6 separate regions of the Homo sapiens genome follow, and all the other regions are linked to region 2. The links are contacts of gene promoters, found by promoter capture Hi-C in blood cells and fetal thymus (Javierre and others, 2016). All regions are on one chromosome and are shown on one strand. Each heading gives the region's core, a stretch centred on a gene start or on the middle of the fragment in contact. The rest is flanking DNA. Distances are from core to core; before and after follow the strand shown.

Region 1 (2,833 bases), core at 51-2,550, 1.0 Mb before region 2:
GTCCCAGAAAAAATGCCAAATAGGTTAAGTATTTCAGAGCAGAACGTAACCTATATTTTTAGAACTTATTTAAATTTCCAGTGGTAATTAGTAGCTGGATATCTTTACTATGAATTGCGTTTGTTGACACATACTTGTAACTGAGCAGAGTTCTTCCTGGAGACTGATGGATTGTTAAGAAAGGCATATAAAAATGTTTCCTTTAGGCTACCAATGAGATGCAATGCTCCTAGTAACTGAACGTTGAACCTGGATGTTTTCTGAGAGCCTGTTGACTTTGTTTGGAGGAGGACATGTCCTTCACTGATGTATTCTTCTCACATGTCATCAGATTGCTAATTATACTATAAAAATAGATTTATTTAAAGTATATGAGTACTCCAGAGAGGCAGCTTATTTTATGACACTATCATTCATATGTTTGTTTTTCCTTCTGAGACTGATTTTCATAAGTTCTGTTGTAATGTAAGTATTAGTGTTACTGCTTTTGTTAATACTTTCTATTCCCTGATGTTCAGATTGAATTTTTATGTAGGATACCTAATAGATCGTTTAATTCAACCAACTCAGGAAAGCACTATGACTCTAGGCTTTATGTTTTTGCCTTTCAAATGAAAAGAGGGATTTTTTCACTCTAGGAGAAGAAATATCATATCCCAAATAAAGGGGAGAAATGTTTAAAATGTCTCAAAGGAGGAATTGTTCAGTCCAAATTTGACTCTAAAGAATTCAGACTTGGGTTTGCCTGGGATCTTAATACACTTAATGTTTCACTATTATTTTGAAGGAAAATGCGTAGAAACAACTTTACCAATTTCCTTAAACTTAAAATCCAAAGGTCAGAAATTGGACTTTTAAAATTCCTAACTCAAATCTGGATTGTCTTCACTGAAATCTTTCTGAAGCTTATTATTAATTTCTATGATAAACCATAATCCTGAAGATATGAGACACTTTTAAGTTATACATTTTTATAAGACTATTATGTTATGGGTTAAAATGAAGACATATTTGAAGTTGAAATGCAGTGGATATAAGAACTTGATTGGATAAGAACTTGATTTGGAGCATGGGAATTCACAAGAAATGAGGCCTCTAAAGGGAAAGAAAAGAAGGCAGAGTAAATGTATATTTATTGCCACTCACCTTGAAGACACTAAGCCTCTGATGTAGAGGTCAATTTTTTAAAAGTTGCTACAAAAATTTCATTATCCTTATCATAGGTGCCTCTACAATAAAGCATCTCATAGTACATTTTCATCCCTTTGCTGCTGTGGGTTCAATTTTTAATAATTGGGTTGCATTTCCAGGAAAATTGTGCAATTTAAATTGTTCTTTGATAACATACTTTCAAATTAGAACACGTTTCAAAGACTAATGGAAAAAAATGAGCATTCACTCTGAATCATTGACCAGGCAGGAAACTGTCGAGTGGGGAGAACCCACCTATTTAATGGATGATTACTTTTTGTTATTTTGGTCAGCAAATTAGTAAAGTCAGAGGGTGAAGTTGGGAAAATGCCAGTTAGCTTGTGGAAACTTGCAGGCTTATTTCTAAAACTTTTCAGGACTGATGTTAATTACACAGGCATCTGAAAAGCAAAAATGGGTTTTAAATGAACACTATCTTAGCTGTCTCATGAAGAAAAGAGAGGGAATGTTTAAACTGTTCCCATCTGTGTGTAACAAAGCTTTTCTCTCAGGGGAAAAACACAGAATAGAGGTGCAAATGCTGAGCTACCTCATTTTAGACTTTCTAAAGTTATATAACAACATGACAAATATGTGCTACTGGAAAATATTGTAGGAAAGGATTAATTTTCTCTTCCACACTGTCTTGATAGAAGAAGTAGGTAAGGAAAATCTAATTTGTTAACGTTTTTTTCCAGCAGTGTATGTTAAGATATGAATCTGTAGAAATACATTCTTTAGATAATTAAATTGAGATACGGAATTTCAGGCAATAGGCTCTTCATTCAAAGAAAAAGAGTAAATCAAATCCACTGTTGATATTGACGGTGAATGCATTTATATTTTAGTGGATTAAATGGAGAGAACTCATTCAAAATAAACCTGTAAAAATACAAGAGGGAACAATAGAAGGTGAAATAAATGTTATTTTTGTGTTTTTTTTGCAGAGATACTTGCTTTTAATTAGAGAAGTTAGAACCAAATGTACTTAAAAATAAAAGATCAAATGCTTTTGAAGGGCAAAATCTGTTCTTATGGCATTGTAGGTTTTGAGCAAGAACAAGATATGGCATAAGACTCCACAAAACAGATTCAGCTGTCAGTATGTGATGCGTGAAAAGACCTGGGCACTGCTGGCTCTGGAACTTGGTCTCGCTGGTACAGATTGTTGCCAACCTTGGAAACTGAAATAGGCCATTTCGCACATGGCACATCATCCCTCTGTAGGAGGAATGGGGTTTATAAATGTTAGTTGGCTACTATTCCCTCCTCCAGATAGACTGGTGAAGCATTTTTTGCATTTTGGTTTTGAAAGCACTCTTATGTTTAGAGCTGTAGTTTAATTCTATCTTTAGCTATAGCTGTAAATTAAAAAAATTACTGGTAGTAAAAATGACAGCAAAGTCATAAGCAAGATGCTAAAAAGGATTGAAACAAGATCATACTTGACTTCATTTATATCATTCTATTTTTTATTTGTGCATATTTTGTTATTGGCATGCAATCATAAACAAAGAGTCCAAATTTTGGCTTGTCTGAGGTTTTAGAACATTTAATATTTCATTATTCTGAAAGGAAATGCATAGAAATGACTGTTAAATTCTGTAGCAAATTCTTCCTGAAGTTTAACCATTAATATTTA
Region 2 (2,700 bases), core at 6-2,505:
TCAACTCTGCAATTTTCTCTCTGCTCAGCAATGTAGTCAAAAACTGGTAAATCAGGGTGAACCATTGTGTCAGGAAGAATTTGATTAGAATGAAACTCCTCCCTACATTTCTTAAATCCATACAAGTCATAAAACTCAGATTTAGTTTATTCCTGAATATGAGAATATGTCTGAAAAACAGAGCTCAGATAACAGGCAATAGAACATAACCTTGTTTGCTGTGATTCTTGTAAAGAAAAACAATTGCAGGCCTGTTCATCACTCATGAAAAATACATCGTATAGTACTGGAACAGTGATTAACTTGCACTTATATTATTGACCTGAATAAATTATTTCTTCATTAGCAGATTATAATTTTGTGTATGTGTCACTTCAAGGCCCTAAAAATAAGAACTAGCTTCCCACCTAGTAGCAGTAGAGAAGCAGTACCAAAAAAAAACCAAACCCCCCACAAAACTAACATTACCTTTCAGGAAGGAACTACATGTTTGTAAAAGCAGGAAAGGAAAAGATTTTTAAGTAATATCTGCTGCTACCTTACAAATCTGTCCAAGTGAATTTTGAATAATTACTGGATTAAATAATAAACTGCCAACCTAAAGCAGAGCAGGATTTGCAATGGTATAATCGACCACAGAGGGATACTCAAATCAGCTAATCTCTTAGTGGCTGTCTCTTTCCGGAGTGAAGAGAAAGATACACTGAGTCTCTAAATGTGTCCAGCTGAAAAGAAAAGTTAACAGTCTGAGATTAACTTAATTTAAAATCGTGGAAAAATTTGATGAGAGGCAGTCTATATTAATTCTTTCAAAACAATGGAGCAAGGAGAAGGCTTTTCTACACTAAACGGTATCGATTATAGGAAGAGTAAACCAAGAAAAATAATGTGCACATCTTTTTTAAGCTGGAAAATGCCTATTTGGTAAAATGATCACTTCCGTTTTTGAGCACCCCTTTGCTGAGGCAGCGAATGGCGGCGTCGGCGGGGTTGTCAGAGAGCAGACGTCGGAGCACTGAGCAGTCTAGATTCTGCGGCATGTCCCCCCCGGAAGAAGCGGGAGAGGCGGCGGCAAGAGCAGAAGCAGGACCCCAAGCAGAGAACTAGGATAGCGAGGCCGGGGGCTGGACCGCAGCCCGGCGGCCAGGAAGGGCGGCGGGGCGGCGGGGACGCTCGGGCACTCAGTCAACCTCACGGGGCGGGGCGGCCGCGGGTCGCGGGCGGATGACGCGCCGGGGCCGGCGGAGGAGCAGCCACTTCCTGGGGCCGCCGGCCGGGGCCGCTGGCTGCACTCAGCGCCGGAGCCGGGAGCTAGCGGCCGCCGCCATGTCCCACCAGACCGGCATCCAAGGTAACAGCGCCCGGCGCGACTCGCAGGGAAGGGGCTTCCGGGAGAGCCGGGAGAGCCGGGAGGGCTGCAGGACCGGCAGGGCTGGAGTCGGGCCGGGAGCTCCGGAAGTCGGTCTCGCGGGGCGAGCCGGGCCTCGGCGCCTCTCCGCGCTCCTGCTTCCCGGGCGCTGCCGGCCTGCGTCCTCCTCCAGCCCGGTCCCTGCTGCCGTCACGTTGCAGATTGATCCGAAATTCGGGGGAGCGAAGGAAATTGGCTTTCGAGGCGGCCTGGTTGAAGGGGGCGTGCCTTCCACCGTCCCCGACAGTCGCCCAACTTTCCCCCTTTTGGTCACGTAGGGAAGAGCTGGGACAGTGGAGGCGACTGGGGCTTCAGTACGCTGTCGAGAACCAGGCGAGTTTTCTTTTTCATGGTCCAAAGGAGAATATTACAGGACTTTGATTACAAAAAGAACCATGCCAGAATCTTTCTCACATCAGTAGGGGTGCTTCCCAAAACTCTCCCGCATTTTCTCTCCAAATAGGAAAATGAGAGTTATGTTCTGAGAAATCTCGAGTGTAAGCGTGTGTTTTGATCTTTTTCCTAGATACTCCCCAAGGGAAACTGATCTGTATGGTTGCATGTAATGCGTGCAGACAGTTCAATATGCAGTTATATCTGACCTCCATTATTTCCTGGTTTGAAATTGGGCAGCCTGCAGGTACTCACCTCATCAAGAGTCAAATAATATATCCCCGGGTTACTCGCGATCACTTAACGAGTTCTAGTGTAAACTCAAGCTCTTACTGTTAATAGCGAGTCTTTCTCCCAGATGAACACTTAATTGTATGTTTTATTCGTAAAGATTTTTGACACCACCGCACACATCCCCCTGCACGCACGCAGAAGCAAAATAGTCTCAAATCTGAAAACTTTGTTTTATTTATCCGCATTAATTTCGATATATAAATATGTAGTTATTGACTCTCATGCTTGAGCCTTATAGCAAGCACTACCTACTTACATAGTGGTTCTTGCTGCTAATAGACAACACAGGAACGAAATTAGAACGAAATTGAAGCTTTAATAGGAACACAAGGGTTAGTTATTAAATACATATTTATTCAATGAGTTTAATCTAGCTTTTGAGAAATGCAAGTTAGAAAAATATAACCAGAGTTAAGACTGAATGCATTTTATTGTCTTTTTCTTTAAACAAGTTAGGATATTTGATATATACTGTTGTTTTTAACGGGAAAATACAGAAAGTGAATTGATGAAGGAGTGTCTGTCATAAGCTTGAAACTGAATTAGAGAATGAAAGCAGGTTTTCAATATTTTTCAAAAGAGCAAGAAAAGTTTTTCAAAATTGT
Region 3 (2,841 bases), core at 25-2,524, 1.1 Mb before region 2:
TTTACTTGTGCACTGGATTCCATCTCTTTTCACCTTCTCAAGAATTTGCTGACATAATTATCTCTGTTCTGTCTTGCATAATCACTATATCTCTCTTCTCCCTGCTGTAATGTGCTGTAATATTGATCAAGGGAGAATAGAACCCTCGTTCGCTTTTATGTCCCCTATAGCTACCGATTTATTGACCACCCTTTACAGCCAACCTTAATGTCTCCACGGTCTCAGCCCATATCCTCATGACAAATCGAATCAGGCTTCCACCTTGATGGGATTCACCTTTGAATCTTTAAATATTGACTTTTAAGTAACAGAATGTTCCAGAGCTCAGTCCTTGGCTCTCTTGGGTTTGCTGAAATGACTGGAATTACTAAAATCAGGAGAAGTTAATTTCATAGGTTTAATAAGAGGCAATTAGAACTGTTGAGAAAAAGGGAAAAAGCATTATTTATAAGAAGGGGGAAAACATTTATGATCATTTTTATGCCAAATACTACTTTATATCAGATAATTTAATGCAAGCAATTCACTTATGATAAATTCAGTTCCACAGTATTTTGGGGACTGGCAGTGGTGGAAAGGAGATGGAGAGACTCAAAGAAAAAGAAGAAGAGGTCATGACAACATGGTTCTGAAACTGGTCAGGTTATTATCCTAATTTAAATATGGAAAATCAAGAGCTAAATCAATACAAGAACTAGAACCAGAATTCTTGGTGGTTCCAGGTCTTCTGTTAAGTTATTTGCCTCCCATATTGATATACAGTAAAGAATAAAGTGCGGCTAAATTATACATTTAAAAGGTATTCAAGTGGAAAATTGCTGGAAAGGGTAATAAAATAACAACCACAAAAATACAATTTTCCTTGGCATTTTCAACTTAATTACCTCAGAGCTGCTCAGATTTTCAGCCAGTCATTACTAGGATTTTTGCATTGGTACAATTAGATTTTCTTCTTGGAAACCCATTTTTGATGAAGAACAAACTGGAATATAGATGGATCATTATGTTTTATTATTAAAATTTCAAAGCTTACACTTTGAGAAAACTCATGATATTAAAATACCATAATAAAGTCGCTTAACCACCTTAGAGGTTTTTCTATATAACATCATGATTTGAGCATACTTTGTCTATTTAGATTTGAGTTTTGGTGAATATTGTAAAGGTTAGAAGTTTGGATATGCAGTTTATACTAAACCACTCTAAAAATATAGTGCTAATAATGATAGCTACTTTATTTTGAGCAACTACATACAATTAACTATTTATATCGGCTATAACTTTTATCCCTTACAATGACTTGATGAAGTGGTTTTATCATCCTTCACAGGAAGAAACCAAGATTCAAAGATATTTAATAATTTTTCCTTGGAAATTAGAAACATGCTCACATTCCTCTTACCTCCAAAGGAAAAGGAAAAGGAAACCGTTAAGTGTCAGATACTACTCCTGGATCTTTTGTGTAACTATCTTGTTTAATCCAAAGTAGGAGCTAAGAAATAGATTGTAATACAAGCTTTATAAGAAGCACTTTGTATTCCATGAGTACAAGTCTGAATGGCATTTTAAATTAGAGAGACTTGCAGTATGTTATAGTGACTTCCCCCATTTCAGCATCGCATTTTGTATGTGATACTTGAATCCTTGACCCTACAGAGAACTAAAAGAATTATTTCACATCAAGCTTTTTCCTCTTATCTAGTGACTGCTGAAACATTTCTTCTTTCCAAACCAGTTTATAAAACTGTTGGTCCTCACCTAAAAATAGAGTTGCTGTGAATTAGATTCTTGATCTGTATACATATGGCACAATCATATGAAATAGTTTTTTCCTGGCATACATTTCCTTTTTCAGCATTTAAGCACACAGCAAGTATAGGACATTTTGAACTTTTTATTTAACATTGATTTCTTTAGAGAGCTTTACATCCATTTGTTGTTTAAAAGTTGGTATTTTTGTTTCTTTTTGCAGCCAAACACTTTGATAATATTTTGAGGTAAATGCCTGAAGATGTCCAAAAAAAGTAAAAGTCATAACAGAAATTGGATTTCAAATGGTTCTTTGTTAAGAAATGACTTATAACAAATTCTCTCTCTGTGTTTGCTACTAACTATTCCACAATCAAGTGTTAATGTTTTAGGTAAAAAATAAAGTCAAGGGAGGGGTGTGAGTGGGAGCTAACGGTTGAGAGAGGGCCGAGCATGGTGACTCATACCTGTAATCCCAGCACTTTGGGAGGTCGAGGCAGGGGGATCACTTGAGGTCAGGAGTTCGACAACAGCCTGGCCAACATGGTGAAAGCCTGTCTCTACTAAAAATACAAAAAATAGCCAGGCGTGGTGGTGCGTGCCTGTAATCACAGCTACTCGGGAGGCTGAAGCAGGAGAATCACTTGAACCTGGGAGGCGGAGTTTGCGGCGAGCCAAAATCGCACCATTGCACTCCAGCCTGGGCAACAGAGTAAGGCCCTGTCTCAAAAGACAAACAAACAAACAAACAAGCAAGTTGAGAGGTCAGAAGCAAAGAGGAGAGAATTGAAAACAAATGCACCACACTGGGAGATTTAAGTCATCTTTGTGGGAAATTTTAATTTTTCTCCCTTTATTCTTTTTTGTTCTCTACCATGTTAGCAAGCTGCCTCTTTAGATTTTTATTTAAAGAAAGATTTTTTTTTAGAAAAAAAATCACACCAAGTTTCCACCTACAAATAAAAACATAGATATAAGATGGAGATAATTTTTCTTTTATCTGTTGCCCTTGTTTGATCAGGATATTTTATAAAAATAGATCCAGGACTGAAAAACTGCAAAACGAGAGCTTTGTAAGTGACAACCTTAGAA
Region 4 (2,700 bases), core at 24-2,523, 1.0 Mb before region 2:
GTATCTGAAGTGAACTAAAAGCAAGAAGAAAGTAGGAAGGGCAGATGATCACACTGTTGCAGAATTAAGAAGAGGGCTTCAGTCAAACCTTGGCACTGAAACATAGCTTCAAACCAAGTGGCATAATTATGAAACTCCCGGGAACTCCATCAGCAGTGCCCTGGTGTGCCATGAACAAAGCTTCATTTGGCCTCCCAACCTGAGATGCTGGTTTCAAATGGTGTTCCTTAAATAGAGGCTGATATTAAAAATTAAGCCACAAACTTCATGTGAGCACAGTGTAAAAAGAGTTTTGGCTCTTCAGTCATTTCAGTATGTTCACCATCAGCAGCATAACCTAAAAAAAACCAGACAGTAATATATGGCAGTTGTTGGAAAGAGTTAAGACACTCAGGCTGATTAAAGGAGTTCTCTCATTATTATAGTTTTCTGACTATTGTGTTTCGAAAGGTAAATAGAGAATAGAGAAATATTTTTAACATATTGATTCATTTATCCATTTATACAGGAAACAGAAGAGAAATATGAAAAATATAAAGGATTGTTGAAAAGCAAAAGTATATTTATCAGTAAAAATAAAAGAAATTTATTGAAAATTCCAAAGAAACTGTTTCCTTCTTCCATGTTTTACAAAACTGCAGTTTCTTCAGGATAAATAAAATCCTTATGTTATCCTTCATGTGATTTGGTGTAGTTGCCTAGATTCTGTTCTGTGGTTTATAATATTTCTTCTTTATTTAAAATAATCTTGGACTTTAGATATACAAATTTGTTCCAAGGGGTTTATTAGGAATTTTGCTGATATCCAGGCATTATTTATGCTTCTGACTTTGAATGCTTTGCAGATAGCATACATGGAGATAATTTGTGGCAATAGCTTTGCAAATAAATATTAAACTGTCCTGTAGTTTGTCATCATCTTCTGTATTAATAAACTTCAGGTGAAATAAATGAGATTTTTCTATCCTCTTAATATTAATTATACATTCTGGGTGAGTAAAAATGTATTTATGTATGAGGCTGAAAAAATGTGTCTTCATGTTTGTGAGTGCTTGTCATGTATTAAGCCATTTTTCTTTCTTGACATTAGTAAGTAAAAATTAAACTTGCTGGCAATATTTGCTTGGCTTAATGGTTCTGAACTAAAAAATGACTTTGTTTATTATGGAAGAAATTAATAGACTGACATAAAAGCTACTAAACTCATTACTTTCTGCTTGCACTTTATTTAATAAATAACTTTAAAGATAATAGGATTTATAAATTAAAATTTCAAACTCCAATTTCTACATAATTAAAAAACTTTACTTAGATTTTATTTTCTTGAAGTGTTTCTATATCATTATTTATCTCTCACAAAATTACATCTCTGTTGTGTATTTTAATACCTCCCTTATTATTAGGAAAGTTACAATATATATTCTAATGTAGCCAAGCATACATATATCACTACCAAGTAGGCATGGTCAGGTGCTCATCAAAGAAAGTAAATTAAAACAAGCAAATGGAATTTCTCATCATAATTTTTATATAGGTGATGTGATGGACAGAAATACACATTTTAACACACAGAGGTTATCCCATAGAGCACACATCCCCCGTTTCACACTAAAGAAGCGAGGCATTTTTTTTCCCTTCCTGTCAGCAGTCCACTCTTTCTGCAGGGTCAAAGAATGAATCAGTTGACTGCTGCTGCCGCAGCCCATAGACTAACCAGCCCATATTCACTTTCATTACACATTTTGGGTATTTTCCTCCTAGATGGGGATGCAGAGGACCAAGAATATTTCCAGGCAACCATCCTATTCTGACCATATCCAGTTATCAGGCCCTAAATATCTTAGGCCATTGCAAGACCCTTCTGTGTCATCCATCTTGTAGCTCCTTCACATCTACTCTCTTCGCTCCCTATGGACAGAGTACTGGAATTTTGGTTTTTGTGTAAGCAACTGTCATTAAGGAGCAAGCAAACTGTGTTTTGGAAACCAACTTGGTGCTCCTGCTTGCAATTTCTCATACTTCCCGTTTCTGTGTTGCCATATCATTTCTTTATAAATGGCAGGAAAGGTGAATTGTTCATTGGAAATAATTGGCCCATGTAACTTTTAATGATCAGTCTGCTACTTTTTTAAAGTTATTTTTTTCTTTTCAGCATTAAAAAATATTTCTAATGATTAAAAACTTTTTTAACCTTTTCTTCACTTGGGAATAAAAACTTTTGAGATTATAATTTTAGTTCTTTCTTGTTTTGGCTTTGCTAAAAATTTGTGACTTTATTATTTTCCCTTTTGCCATTTTTTAAAACATTGACGTCTAAATTTTAGGAGTCTATAGCTCTTCCTGATTTTCTTTAAGACAGAAGCTTATCATATCTCGATGATTTACTATCTAATACCATGTTTCATAGAGATGTCGTTAATGAACGGATATTTTTTTTTGAGTCATTGGTCCAGAATTCTTTCTGCATGCATGCGTGTGTGTGTGTGTGTGTGTGTGTGTAAAGAGCAAAATCCATCAAATGTATAAATTCCTATTAAATATAATGTTTTAGACAGGAATATTTTGTATTTTTTCTTGTAAATGATGCCTTATAATTAAATGCAGTGACATTAGAGGCTCTGACTTTGCTGAGCACTTAATTTTTTTCTTTAAGAGGATTTTTGCATTTCAAACGTTGCTTCTTTATATGTGTTTATTATT
Region 5 (2,891 bases), core at 94-2,593, 1.0 Mb before region 2:
TAGTTGGACCGACCTGGTAATTAGTATGGACTGTGCCTCCCAGGACCTCCCATAAACCTTTGTACAGCATAAATTGTGTCTGTGTGTGAGATTATCAGGTATTACCTAGAGCTGTACCGCGAGTCCAAGGTTGTAAACCTTGCTTCAGTGGAGAATTAGGAGGGAAGGGGAGTAACTTATTCTTACACAGCAAGATAGGCACATTGTTTTGTCTTCCAAGCCTTGGAAAAGAAAATTCATTGAATTTCATTCAACAAATTTTTATTGAACCCTTCTCTCTGTCTTGGGCTATAATTGCTGGTAGTTATTGGGGTAGAAGAGAGGTATAGTACACAGTTTTGTCCTTAAGGAGATTAAAATCAGTCTTTCTGAGGATGTAAGACTGGCATATAAAGCAATTAGGCAAGAAACAGAGAAAACTATAAGGCAGCACAAAGTAGTACACTGAAAAATAATGAAAATGTGTAGTAAAGCTATCAGAGCTGTGGACTATCATGAAAGGGAGAGAACTGTCAAGAAGATGGGATATGAGATGTCAAATTTTTATTGCAGTATAATTCCTGTATGATTTTGATGCCCAGTTCTCCTCTGTTTTAAAGCATAAAATATAGTGAAGAAATTTTCTATAGACCACTTTGTAGAACACCCAGGTTTTGCTTGAATTTTAAAAAAGGAATGTTATACAACAAAAGAAAACAAAAAGCAAAACATTTATTTGTTAAGTGTTCTGAACGTTCTGTGTAGGCCAACTCACAACTACCCCCAAAACTGGTGGTGGAATTGGGAAAAAGTAAGTGTGAAGCTTACATTTAGCTCTGGAAGGTGTTTCTGGGCATTCAGTTAGTAATTATTTTCTCTGATAATCTAGAAATTTATAACATTGCTAAGAAAATACTCAAACCACACTATTACCATTGTACCTGTCAGAAATTTAGGTCCTCCGTTATTCCTTTTTCTAGGGAGATGTTAATCTTAGAATGCTAGAAAGGACTAAGTTCTTTTCATAGAGCTACAGTCCTCATGCAGACCTGCCAGTTCATAATTTCCAAAGGGAAAGGAGAGTCTTTTGGTCTTAATATGTAACAATATAAAGCACTATTTTAAATGTTTTTGTATGTGTTCTAGTTTTGTTCATTGTGGTTGTTATCTACTCTACCTTTAAATCATAATATTAAAATAGGTGGCAATGCCAAGAAATGTTGAGGACAAAACGAATCTGTAACTTTTACTTAGTTACTTGGGCAGACAATATGCTCTTTGTTATGAAAAGGCGTGGAAGTAGGTGGCAAAGTCATGAATGAACAAGACGGTCAGCTATACTTATTGATTGTTTTCTGCATGCAGATCACTGTGCTAAAAAGGAGAATTACAGAATTGATCCCTACACCTGGAAAGCATATCACACAATGAGAGAAGAAAGGATGCACACCAAAATATGCATATCAACACCAGTGATGAAAACTAGTTAATAGGCATTTTCACTTCCTGTCTTTTCCACTTTCATGACATCTAGTACTTGCTTTAACTAAGCCTCTTATCACATTGTTTTGGTCTTCCATTCTAGACATAATCAACTAAAGACATAAAGAATTTCTTTTTATCTTTGGGAAATTATATCCATATCTGTTGATTCCAGGGGTTGGTTAAAACTGTGGCCCCAAAGGCCAATTTTGGGGCTCATTCTTATATGGCCCCTTGAGCTAAGACTGGTTTTTACATTTTTAAATGCTTGTAGAAAAGAAAAAAAGCAATATGGAATAGAGGTGTATGTGGCCTGAAAAGACTAAAATTTTTACTCTCTGTTTTTATACAGAAAAAAATTCTTATCCTCATTTTACAGAATGAGACCCACGGGGAACATTTGAACGAGTCATAGGAAGCTTGGGGAGATGGATTACTTAGGGAATAGGCTAAGTTCCTGTAACAAAGAGACCCAAAATGCAGTGCTCAAATAAGAAAGAAGATTATTTCTTTTTTATATAACAATCTAGAGGCAGGCAGGTGGTTCCGGGCTGATGCACAGTCCTGCCACCTGAAATTACTCACGGACACAGTTTTTGTCTGTCTTCTAACTCCACACTGCCATTTTCCTCATGGAGGACATTCCAGTCTGAAAGAAAAGAAGAGTGGGGACAATCAGTTCCTTTTTAATAATAAAATATGGATCATAACGCCTGTCACTTCTGCTCACATCCCAGTGGCGAGGATTTACATCACCTGTTCACTTTAGCTGAAAAGGATATAGGGGAATGAAGTTTCTATCTGGGAAACCATGTGTGCCCTGATAAAAGTAGAGAGTTTTATGACTTAGAAGAGGAAGAGAGTTATTGCTATTGGAGGACAGTTAGCAATCTGCCACAGAGAGGTAAACAGTTCATGGTACTGGATTATTCCTGATCTTCATTGCAGAATTCTCAACATGATCATTATGTAATATATACTGAATATTTACTATATACTCAGTATATATTTGTTGAACTCATTAAAGTGAGCAGAAAACTGGAAGCAATACTTAGTCTAGGAATGGTCACTTAGGGAGTAATCTGTTCGTGAAATGGGAAAGACACAAGCATGGTGGGGTCAGATGTGTGGCTCCTGGGAATGGTTAAATTAGCGCTAGAGATTATAGAGCTCCCAGTAAGGTAAAGTACAGAGATTAGTTTAGACAGTAAGTGAATCTTCTGTATTTTATACAGGGGTAATATTGGTATTTAAATAGTGAGTTTAATTTAAAGAAAACTCACAATGGTGGGAAAAACTTCAAGAGGGTGGTAAGATGGGGCTGGTGGTGGGTTGTGAGTATAAGCAGGAGTTGGGTGTGGTGTCCAATGTGGTAAATGGGGCAAGTCCAGTCCCCCCACAGATTAAAGTCATGCAGGCAGCATGTGATA
Region 6 (2,700 bases), core at 123-2,622, 1.1 Mb before region 2:
TAATACAATTTCTTCTGAAGTGTTAACAGATTTTATAATCTCATTAATCCATAGAAGAGAAGTGGATAAAATCAAAGCATGTTTTTTTTACAAGTTGTTAAGTTGAAAATAAGCTTAGTAGTTATTTGTAAAAAACTTTAAGGTTTTAAAGGGAAAAAAAGGTCGTACGTCTCCTCTTATGCCAGTGTTACGCAGAGTGAAATAGGCATTTGGTAATAGACCATGGACTTTAGTAGGCAAAGGTAACTGCATTGAGGAAATCGAGGTGGCACTAATTTGTCTTCAGTATGATGGTTGGTGAGCATCTGTGGACTTTGAAGTGATGGCTGTTGGTGCCCAAATAGTGTGGAATAACACAGTGTTTAAGAGATGCACTTAGAAACAAGATAGACTGAGGTGGAATTTCATTAGTTGTTTTACTGTGGTGAAGTTACTTAATTTCTCTAAGCTCCAGTACCCTCAATTATAAAATGATCATTGTTATGACAATTAAGCGAGTTACTTTCATTCTTTCAAATAAGTTATTTTTGGGAAACTAGCATACTGCTAGGTGTTAGGCACATAACAAATGAAGACGTTAGAACTTAACTTTGATTTCATAGTGTCTTAAAAATAGCCGTTGAACAATTACATAGTTACAGACCTAATCACCATTAAGATAAATTATATGAAGAAAAACTGAAGATATAATGGGAATCTATATTTTAGTTAGGGGAGTCTCAGGCTCAGGGAAACCATCTTTGAAGAATAGTCATTTAAGCTGATAGTTGAAGGATATGTAAGAGTAGTCCAAAGAAGAGAAGCTATGGGGATAGGCAAAGGGACTAGTGTGTGAGCAAGGTTCTGAGCATGGGATGAATGTGCATTTGAGAACGTGGAGGAAGTCTAGAGAAGTAGAAACATAGGGCATGTGATATGAAATAAAGTATATGAGGAAAGCAGGAACCAGGTTACATGGTAGGCTATACTAATAGAGCAGAATTGAAAATTTATCATTATGGAAATATATATTATGGTGGGCAGAATAATGGTCCTGCATAGATGTTCATGTCTTAATTCTTGGAACCAAACAATAGGTTACGTTATACAGCAAGGGGAAGTTAAGTTTGCTCATCAGCTGACTTTAAGATTAGGAGGCTATCATAGGTTATCTGGGTGAGCCCTGTGTAATCAGAAGAATCTTTTGAAATGGGGAGAAGGAAGCAGAATAGTCAGTGTAGAGTGATGTGATATGAGAAAAACTAGTCTGGCCACTGGTGGCTTTAAAGGTGATAGTGGGCCACAAGCCAAGGACTGCAGGCAGTTTTTAGATGCTGAAAAAGGCAAGAAAATGAGTTTTCTCTTACAGCCTCCAGAAGGAATGTAGTGCTACTGATACCTTGATTTTAGACCAATGAGACTCATTTTGGACTTCTGATCTCCAGAACTGTGAGATAATAGATTTGTGTTGATTTAAGTCACTAAGTTTGTGGTGATTTGTTTGAGCAGCAATAGGAAACGAATACAAATTTTCCTGCATGGAAGTGTGGTGCTGGTGTAAGAAATACCTAAAAAATATGGAAGTGGCTTTGGAACTGGGCAATGGGCAGATGCTGGATGAATTTTTAGGAGCATGATAGAAAAAGCCTAGATTGCCTTAAATAGACTTTCAGTAGAAATATGGTTATTGGTGACTCTATTATTGAGGACTTAGAAGAAAGTGAAGAGCATGGTAGAGAGAAAATCTAAATCACCTCTGAATATTCCTAAATTATCATAAGCGAGCATTGGTTAGGTATAGACATTGAAGGAACTGCCATTGAGGGCTCAGATGGATATAAAGAATTTTTATTATAAACTGAAGGAAAGGGGACCCTTCTTACACAGTGGCAGAAAACTTAGCTGAATTGTACCCTGTGGTTATGTGGAAAGCAAAACTTGTAAACAATGAACTTAGATTTTAGCTAAGGTGATTTGTAAGCAACAAAAGTGTTGAAGGTGCACTCTGGCTTTTTCTTGCTGTTTGTAGTAACGTGAGAGGAGAGAGAGAGATTTAGGGAATAATTGTTGAGCAAAACATATTCATAACTTGATATTTGAGAAATTATCAACCTATTCAGATTCCAAAACATGTTAAAATAGGATATTCACTGTTAGGAATACCTAGTCTGAAAAGAAAGCCAAGGATGTGACTAGAAAATATTTTGCTAGTGCCTCAGAAATATCAAAAGGTCAGAGTATTCAGTTACATTGAGGGCTCTTTGAAGAACATATGACTCATAGATCCCCTCAACCATTTCAGCAGAGGTCACAAATAGAGATGGAATTATCCAAGAAATATCTATGGAGGAGCCTTTTTTGTTTAATGGAGTGAATCCCCATGACATACATGGGAGATCTACAAGGTTCTTAAGAATATTATGGCAGTAAAATTGCTGCTGGTGTGGCCTGAAAGAATCAGTGAGAGAATAAAATGAAAGAAGGTGTTGGATCCCCAAAATTCTACAAGCAAAAAACAGGCTGACTTGGCTGTCAACATCTTTCTATGAAGCTACCTTTCATGAAAAAAGAAGGTTAATTCAAAGGGCAGAACTCAGAGCCCAGAGCATGGAGCTGACTCCAGAGGGTGGAACCAATAATTACAGAAGCTTATTTCTAGACCTTGAAACCAAGTGGTGTTTGCCTGGCTGGATTTTAAAGTTGCTTGGATATGGCAATTGT

What was found. The method cuts DNA at HindIII sites, captures the fragments that hold promoters and counts their contacts. A CHiCAGO score of 5 or more calls a contact.
Region 1: a contact is called between a fragment that was not itself captured here and the fragment with the promoter of TWF1 in region 2, in 1 of 17 cell types (activated CD4 T cells). The highest score is 5.9, in activated CD4 T cells.
Region 3: a fragment that was not itself captured here is called in contact with the fragment with the promoter of TWF1 in region 2 in 2 of 17 cell types (erythroblasts and M1 macrophages); the score reaches 5.9 in erythroblasts.
Region 4: a fragment that was not itself captured here is called in contact with the fragment with the promoter of TWF1 in region 2 in 1 of 17 cell types (activated CD4 T cells); the score reaches 8.4 in activated CD4 T cells.
Region 5: a fragment that was not itself captured here is called in contact with the fragment with the promoter of TWF1 in region 2 in 1 of 17 cell types (activated CD4 T cells); the score reaches 7.1 in activated CD4 T cells.
Region 6: a contact is called between a fragment that was not itself captured here and the fragment with the promoter of TWF1 in region 2, in 1 of 17 cell types (activated CD4 T cells). The highest score is 6.1, in activated CD4 T cells.

The regions. Positions count from the first base shown.
Region 1 is chr12:44,851,311-44,854,143 of GRCh38, reverse strand. The region is part of intron 2 of NELL2 (neural EGFL like 2); the gene reads left to right. Among named protein-coding and RNA genes, the nearest start is that of NELL2, 24 kb to the left of the region's middle. The HindIII fragment of the contact is 786 bases long and covers 908-1,693 here.
Region 2 is chr12:43,804,872-43,807,571 of GRCh38, reverse strand. It overlaps TWF1 (twinfilin actin binding protein 1), which reads left to right and starts at 1,255. Exons shown (of 9, transcript NM_002822.5): 1 at 1,255-1,351. The coding sequence starts at 1,327. It also overlaps a transcript of TMEM117 not described here. RefSeq lists a silencer at 1,080-1,559. The HindIII fragment of the contact is 5,668 bases long and covers 1-2,410 here.
Region 3 is chr12:44,940,340-44,943,180 of GRCh38, reverse strand. No RefSeq gene overlaps it. Among named protein-coding and RNA genes, the nearest start is that of NELL2, 65 kb to the right of the region's middle. The HindIII fragment of the contact is 488 bases long and covers 1,031-1,518 here.
Region 4 is chr12:44,807,130-44,809,829 of GRCh38, reverse strand. The region is part of intron 3 of NELL2 (neural EGFL like 2); the gene reads left to right. Among named protein-coding and RNA genes, the nearest start is that of NELL2, 68 kb to the left of the region's middle. The HindIII fragment of the contact is 2,182 bases long and covers 183-2,364 here.
Region 5 is chr12:44,830,957-44,833,847 of GRCh38, reverse strand. The region is part of intron 2 of NELL2 (neural EGFL like 2); the gene reads left to right. Among named protein-coding and RNA genes, the nearest start is that of NELL2, 44 kb to the left of the region's middle. The HindIII fragment of the contact is 1,078 bases long and covers 805-1,882 here.
Region 6 is chr12:44,869,238-44,871,937 of GRCh38, reverse strand. The region is part of intron 2 of NELL2 (neural EGFL like 2); the gene reads left to right. Among named protein-coding and RNA genes, the nearest start is that of NELL2, 5.7 kb to the left of the region's middle. The HindIII fragment of the contact is 2,514 bases long and covers 116-2,629 here.